2 separate regions of the Homo sapiens genome follow, and region 2 is linked to region 1. Evidence: promoter capture Hi-C in human tissues and cell types (Jung and others, 2019). All regions are on one chromosome and are shown on one strand. Each heading gives the region's core, a stretch centred on a gene start or on the middle of the fragment in contact. The rest is flanking DNA. Distances are from core to core; before and after follow the strand shown.

Evidence for each region. Contacts are between HindIII fragments. The study calls those that stand out against the background at their distance.
Region 2: a contact is called between a fragment that was not itself captured here and the fragment with the promoter of OR6B2 in region 1, in 2 of the 25 tissues and cell types used here (dorsolateral prefrontal cortex and lymphoblastoid cells).

The regions. Positions count from the first base shown.
Region 1 is chr2:240,028,792-240,032,068 of GRCh38, forward strand. OR6B2 (olfactory receptor family 6 subfamily B member 2) reads right to left here and starts at 1,638. Exons shown (of 1, transcript NM_001005853.1): 1 at 700-1,638. The coding sequence starts at 1,638. The coding sequence ends at 700. The HindIII fragment of the contact is 5,539 bases long and covers 715-3,277 here.
Region 2 is chr2:240,178,317-240,181,436 of GRCh38, forward strand. No RefSeq gene overlaps it. Among named protein-coding and RNA genes, the nearest start is that of OTOS, 39 kb to the left of the region's middle. The HindIII fragment of the contact is 8,115 bases long and covers 1-3,120 here.

The DNA of each region.
Region 1 (3,277 bases), core at 388-2,887:
GGCACATAAGATGGTGGTCCCATAAGATTATGACATTATATTTTGACTTACCTTATCTGTGTTTAGATGCATAAATTATGGATGAGCACAGTGGCTCACACCTGCTGGGACAGGTGGGACAGGGTTTCACCCAGCATAATGTATTATGTATATATAATACACAATACAGTATATGCATTATCCCAGTATATGTATTATCCCAGTATGAATGTATTATGCATTGTGTATTATACAGTATAAATGTATTATTTATTATGAATATTGGATAGCAATGAGAATGCATGAATTATTGTTACATGCAAAAACATCAAGGATTCACTCAAGCAACACGGTGAATGAAAGAAGCTGAACATAACAGGGCACATACTTTATGTGTAAGCCCCTCAGAAACACCAATGCTAGCATCTGGTTTTGGAAGTCAGGACAGTGCTTTTTGTGGAGAAGGGTTAATGACTGGGAGAGGGCGTGAAGGCAGCTTCTAGTTCTTGATCTGGGAGCTGGTTCCATGAGCACAGTCCTTTTGTGAAAACATATGCAGACGAAGGCTTGTTACTTGTGCACAGTTGTGTAGGTTTGTTAAATTTCACTTAGTTCTGTAGGTTTGTTAAATTTAACTTAAAAATTAATTTAAAGAGCACAAAGTGCCACATACAATGTTGTTTCATCACTACAGATTTTACTCTAGGACATTTAGTTGTCTTAGTGTGAAGTTTGACCCAAGCCCAAGGCCTTTTTCAAGGCGTCCTTAAATTCCTTGTTCCTCAGGCAGTAAATCAAAGGGTTAATTATTGGCGTGACAACAGTGTACACGGCAGAGATGAGCTTGTTGGAGCTCTGGGAATCAATGGCTTGGGGCCGGACATACATGAAAAGCAAGGCTGTATAGAAGACGGTGACCACGGTGAGGTGAGAGGCGCAGGTAGAGAAGGCTCTCCAGCAGCCGGTGGCCGAGGGGATGCGCAGGACAGCCAGGGTGATGTGCCAATATGACAGTATGGTGGCCAGGAGCGGAAACACCAGGATGATGAAGGCCAGGATGAAATCCACCAGCTCTGCAGTGGAGAAGTCCGTGCAGGCCAGCTTGAGGATGGGGGAAATGTCACAGAAGAAGTGGTTCAAGACGTTGGAGCCACAGAACGTGACGCTGGAGATAAAACAGACCTTGATCATGGAGATGGTGAAGCCACTCACAAAGGAGAAGCCCACCAGCTGGAGGCACAGCCCCGGGGTCACAAGGACGTGGTAGCGCAGCGGGTGGCAGATGGCCACGTAGCGGTCGTAGGCCATGGAGGCCAGAAGCACACACTCGGTGCACACCAGGGAGCTGAAGAAGTAGAGCTGCGTCATGCACCCGACGAAAGAGATGCGTTTCTGCTGGAGGAGGAAGCCCTCCAGCATCTTGGGGGTGATGTCAGACACGTACCAGATCTCCAGGAAAGACATGGAGCTCAGAAAGTAGTACATGGGCCTGTGGAGGGAGGTGCTGCTCCAGACGATGAGGATGATGGCCAGGTTCTCCACCAGGACAAAGAGGTAGGTGAGCAGGAAGAGGAGGAAGAGCAGGTACTGCAGCCCTGGGGCCGTGGGGAGGCCCACCAGGATGAAGGTGCTGACCTTGGTGACATTCTCCCCACTCATGCCTCTGTGCTTGGGAGCTGCAGGCCTACAAAACATCAAAGAGCAAGAGGAAAGGGCTGCAGGGCAGCTGAGGCAGAGAGAGAGTGGAGCTGGACTTGGATGGGGAGTTTTGGTGCAAAGAGAGGCCACGTGGCTCCCCAGAGCACCAGGAGAGAGCAGTGATCTGCTGATCTTCTGAGTTTTAAAGTAGAAAACTTCTGTGTGCTTGCATTTACATATAACCATGAAGTAGGAATGAGGAAGAGAGTATATGCTGAGGAACAGAGCCGGGCAGCTCCAGGGTGGGCAAAACCCAAAGCTCTGAGTCCAGGGGCACTACCAGTCCACACGTGCCTGGGGCAGCTCTCAAGATCCAAGTGGGCATGGACACAGAGCTGGCCCTCCTTAGGGTCCTTCATCTGAGGGTTCCTGCAAGTCGGGGCAGCAGCCTCGGCATGAGGTGAGGGGCTATCAGCCTACCAGGGCAGAACCCCAAACTGGGCTAACCAGCCGGAGGAATGCAGGGAGGGCTCCCAGGAAAGGGCTGCCTGGCTCTGGGGGACCTGGTCCACAGGTGGGGGAGAGAGAGGGTAGCCACAGCCCCTTGCCCCACAGGGCATCTGGTGGTTCTTTTCATTGGCAGTCTAGGTGGGTTGAATGGCAGACTTCCACCAGCTCACAGCTGGGGAGGGTGACCCCAGGTTTCTGGCCCAGGATGCTAAAAATTGATGAGAAGACTAGGAGAGGGCCAGGTGGGTGCCGAATAATCTGGAGTCTGTGCTGGGGAGGCGTGGTGCGCGGCACTTACTGGAGAGCCTCATGGTGACGTGTAGGGGGTTGGCTAGACAAGTCGAGTTCATGGAAGAGTTGCAGGCTGAAAAACAAACTTCTAGAAGGGAATTGCCCAGGGACAGGTTTACACTTGGAAACGCACCTGTACTCCTGCCGTCTAGGGTGAGCATTCTGTGGGAACCCAAGATCATCCACTGGGGCGGCATGGCCATTCCCTGCCTTAAAATGCCAGCGTGCAGTTCAGAGTTTAGGATCAATTTCACAAGCATTTACTACTCACTCCAGTCACCGCCTACTGTCTCCCCAAAACAAAAGCAATAAGAACCCCTGCCATTAAAGGGGTCTCAAGATGTGAGTCTGAATGTAGCCTCTCTAGACACCATCCAGGGTGGTGACTGTGTCCTCTTCCCAGCTGAGTGGCCACAGGGGGCTTTAAAGTCCACAAGGAGGAAAGTTGGGGTCCACAGGAGCTCCTTGGAAGGCCAGCAGCCCCCACCTGTTGACTGGGTTTGCTGGGGAGAGCTGGCGGTGGGGGTAGTGAGCTTTGGTTCTTGTGCTTTTAACCCAGAACAGTAGAGGCACCTATAGATTTCTCTTGATTATTTGGATAGTGGTAACTGATCATTAGTGAGTTGGCTAGTTAATACCGGATTGATTCATTAAATTGAAACTGTGTTACTTTACAAATTCAGGGCCCTTTACAGCACACTCTATCCATCCCCTGAACTTGTTAGACAATGGCTGCATTTTCTTTTAAATAAACTTTTTATTTTGGAATAATTTTAGATTTACAGAAAAGTTACAAAGAGAGTGCAGAGAGCTCTGGGAGATCCTCCATTCAGCTTCCTCCAAGGCTAACTTCCTACAT
Region 2 (3,120 bases), core at 463-2,962, 150 kb after region 1:
ACTCACAATGCTTCCCTGGTGTCTGTCAGTGTCTGGGACCCTCTCTGCAGGCATCATGAAGAGGAGCCCCAGGAGCTCATGGTCTAGATGCTGAGGATGTGACAACCTGGCCTTGCAATTAAGAAGCCTGGAGGGGCAGATGAGGGCACAGATGAAGGCACCGGCTAACAGCCCCAAGAGAGGAGCCACTTGCAGCCATCAGCAGGGATTAGAAGATCCCTAATCTTCCCGGGGAAGATTCTATATGTTGGAATAAAACAAGTCTCTCCTTTTCTCACCAGCTGTAGGACGGAGATATATAACAGATGTGTTCACAGTGCCCAAGCCTCCATAAATGACTAGGCAGAGTCTTCTGGAAGGTCATGATTTCACATCTCTCTGTGTGAGTAGTGAGCTGTGAAATGGCCCAAGAGATCTTGTCTCTCTGCAACCACTGGGGAGCGCTTGACTTGTCCAGGTGTGAGCTTCCTAATCCCTGCTGATGGCCGCAAGTGGCTCTTCTCTTGGGGCTGTAGGCTGGTTCCTTGAAAGTGCTTTCAGCCACTGCAGTAGGGCTTGAGTGAGTGGCCAGGGAGATGTTCATTTTCACTGGAGAAGCCTCAAGGAGAGAGAGAAGCAACTCTGGGCAAAGAAACTATGTTCTGAGGGAAAACTGGGTATGAGAGCCTGTGTGGCCACATCCACCAAGGGGAGTGGAGTCAGGGCCATGGATGTTCCAGAATAAGATTAATCAACATATGGGGTCAGAGGGTCCCTCCAGGGAGGTCCACTATTTCAAACCAGCCAGCATCTTCAACCTTTCCACCATCAAAGCTTCGCAGAGGGGAATATTATGAATAGCAAGAAATGTGCAGGAAGACTGTTTCTTCTGTTCTATTTCTGCTCCTTTAAAATAGCTCTGTATGTCCAACAGCTTCCCTGGGTAATAAGACCCAACCTTAGAATAAAATGCACTGCATTCTTCAAATCACGAGGCCAACTCGGCAGGGCAGCCGTTGAGAGGAGGTGGGACCCCCTGGAAGTGTTTCCTCCTTTGTTAAGAGGCTGTCATGGTGATGGGGCCACAGGATGGAGCTCTAGGAGAAGGCTGGGTAAATACTGGGATGTTCCATCTCACAAGCTCTTGGCAAAGGTTTAGATCAGGTTTAGGCTTGGACCAGGCCATGAAACAACTCCCACGTCCAGGTGGGTCTCGAGGCCCAGGCATCTTCCCAAGGCTACTGGCCCCAGGGCCCTTGGCTGGGTGATGCAGGCCTAGACCCTGCATCAGCGCTCCATGGCAAGGAGGGGTCCTTCTGGCCAGGGGCCCTGGGCCAGCACAAGGGCAGGAGCGCACTGGAAACAGCCGCATACACCGGAAACAGAAACACAGGTGGACACAGGAGCCCCCACGCCACCTGACTTTCTCTGGCACCCCGTGCAGCCCAGGAGGAGCCAGTGCAGGATGAGAGAGGTCTCTCCCAGCCCCAAGCCCTGGGTGGGCTCCTGCTGCACTCCAGCCCAGGGGAAGATTTGTCTTGGCCCCACCTGTGCCAGCCCTAGGATGGAACTGCTGACACTGTTGGGAAGCCCAGACAGAGATTTATGAAAAAGCTGTTTCCACCAGTGAGGACCACATAAAAACAGGATCCATAAAATATTGAGTGAAAAAATAAGATTGCAGACAGATTTACATCGATTCTCTTTTCCACGCGCATGTTCTCATTTTTTAATTCCTGTCCAAGAAGCCGAACGTCTCCTCCTCCCTAAAGGCACCCCCTCCCGTCCAGGCCTGTGCTTCTCCTCCCTTCCCCACCTCTCCAACTCCCCAGAGCCTCCTGAGCCCACCACTGAGATGGGGTCTTAAGCCCCTGCCCTGTGGTATCCCAGGCCCTTGTGTAATCCCCACCCCTGGGGTGTGAGCTGGACCTAGTAACTTACTTCTAAAGAGCAGAATATGTCACTTCCTGGATTAGGTTACAAGAAGACAGGTTCTGTCTTGCTGGCCCTCCAAGTGTTTTCTTATCCTCTACTCTCCCTCTTTCTCCCTCACTCCCTCTGAGGGTAGCCAGTAGCCACATTGTGAGCAGCCTTATGGAGAGGTCCACATGGAAAGGAACAGGTGCCTCTGGCCACAGCCCACAAGAATCCAGATCCTGGCAGCAGCCACGGATGTGAACTCAGAAGCAGATGCCCCCATACCAGTCCTGTGATGACTGCAGCAGCAGCCGATGCCTGGATTACAGCCTTGACAGACACCAAGAGGCACCAAGCTAAGCTGTGCTCAGATTCCAGACCCACAGGAACTGTAAACTTACAGGTATGTGTTGGGTCTGGCACACTGGCTCATGCCTGTAATCCCAGCACTTTGGGTGGCCAAGGCAGATAGACTGCTTGAGCCCAGGAGTTTGAGACCAGCCTAGATAACATGGCAAAACCCCACCTCTACAAAAAATACAAAAAATAGCCAGGCGTGGTGGTGCTTGCTTGTGGTCCCAGCTACTCAGGAGGCTGAGGTGGGAGGATGGCTTGAGCCCTGGAGGCTGAGGTTGTAGTGAGCTGTGATCAGGCAACTGCACTGCAGCCTTGGCAACAGTGCAAGACCCTATCTCAAAAAACAAAGTTTGAAGCTGCTGCATTTTGGGGTAATTTGCTACACAGCCATAGATAACTAATACACAAAATGAAACTTCCCTAACTCTCCTGTGTTTTAAATCATTCCTTCACACTTCAGAGAAGTCTGTTTTGCTGCCTTGATTTCCCTCCATCCACCCTCCTTGATCACCTTCAACCTGGCCATGTCCTCCTGCTTCCCTCCTGAAACTCTCCTCTGGAAGGTCCCCAAGGACCATGCAGCCACGGCACACCTGCTCCTCTTCTTTCTGATACTAATGGAACATTAACATGCTCCCTCCAGCGGCTCTAGGGGAGAATCTTTCCTTGATTCTTCCAGCTTCTGGTGATTTCCAGCAGCAGTTTTCAGTGTTCCTTGGTTTGTGGCGGCATCACTCCAATCTCTGCCTCCGTCTTCACATGGCTCTCTTCCCTCTGTATGTCTGTGTCCAAATTTCCCTCTCTTTACAAGGACACTACTCTAATGGGCCACCCTAATTCAGGATGACCTCATGTTAACTAATTATA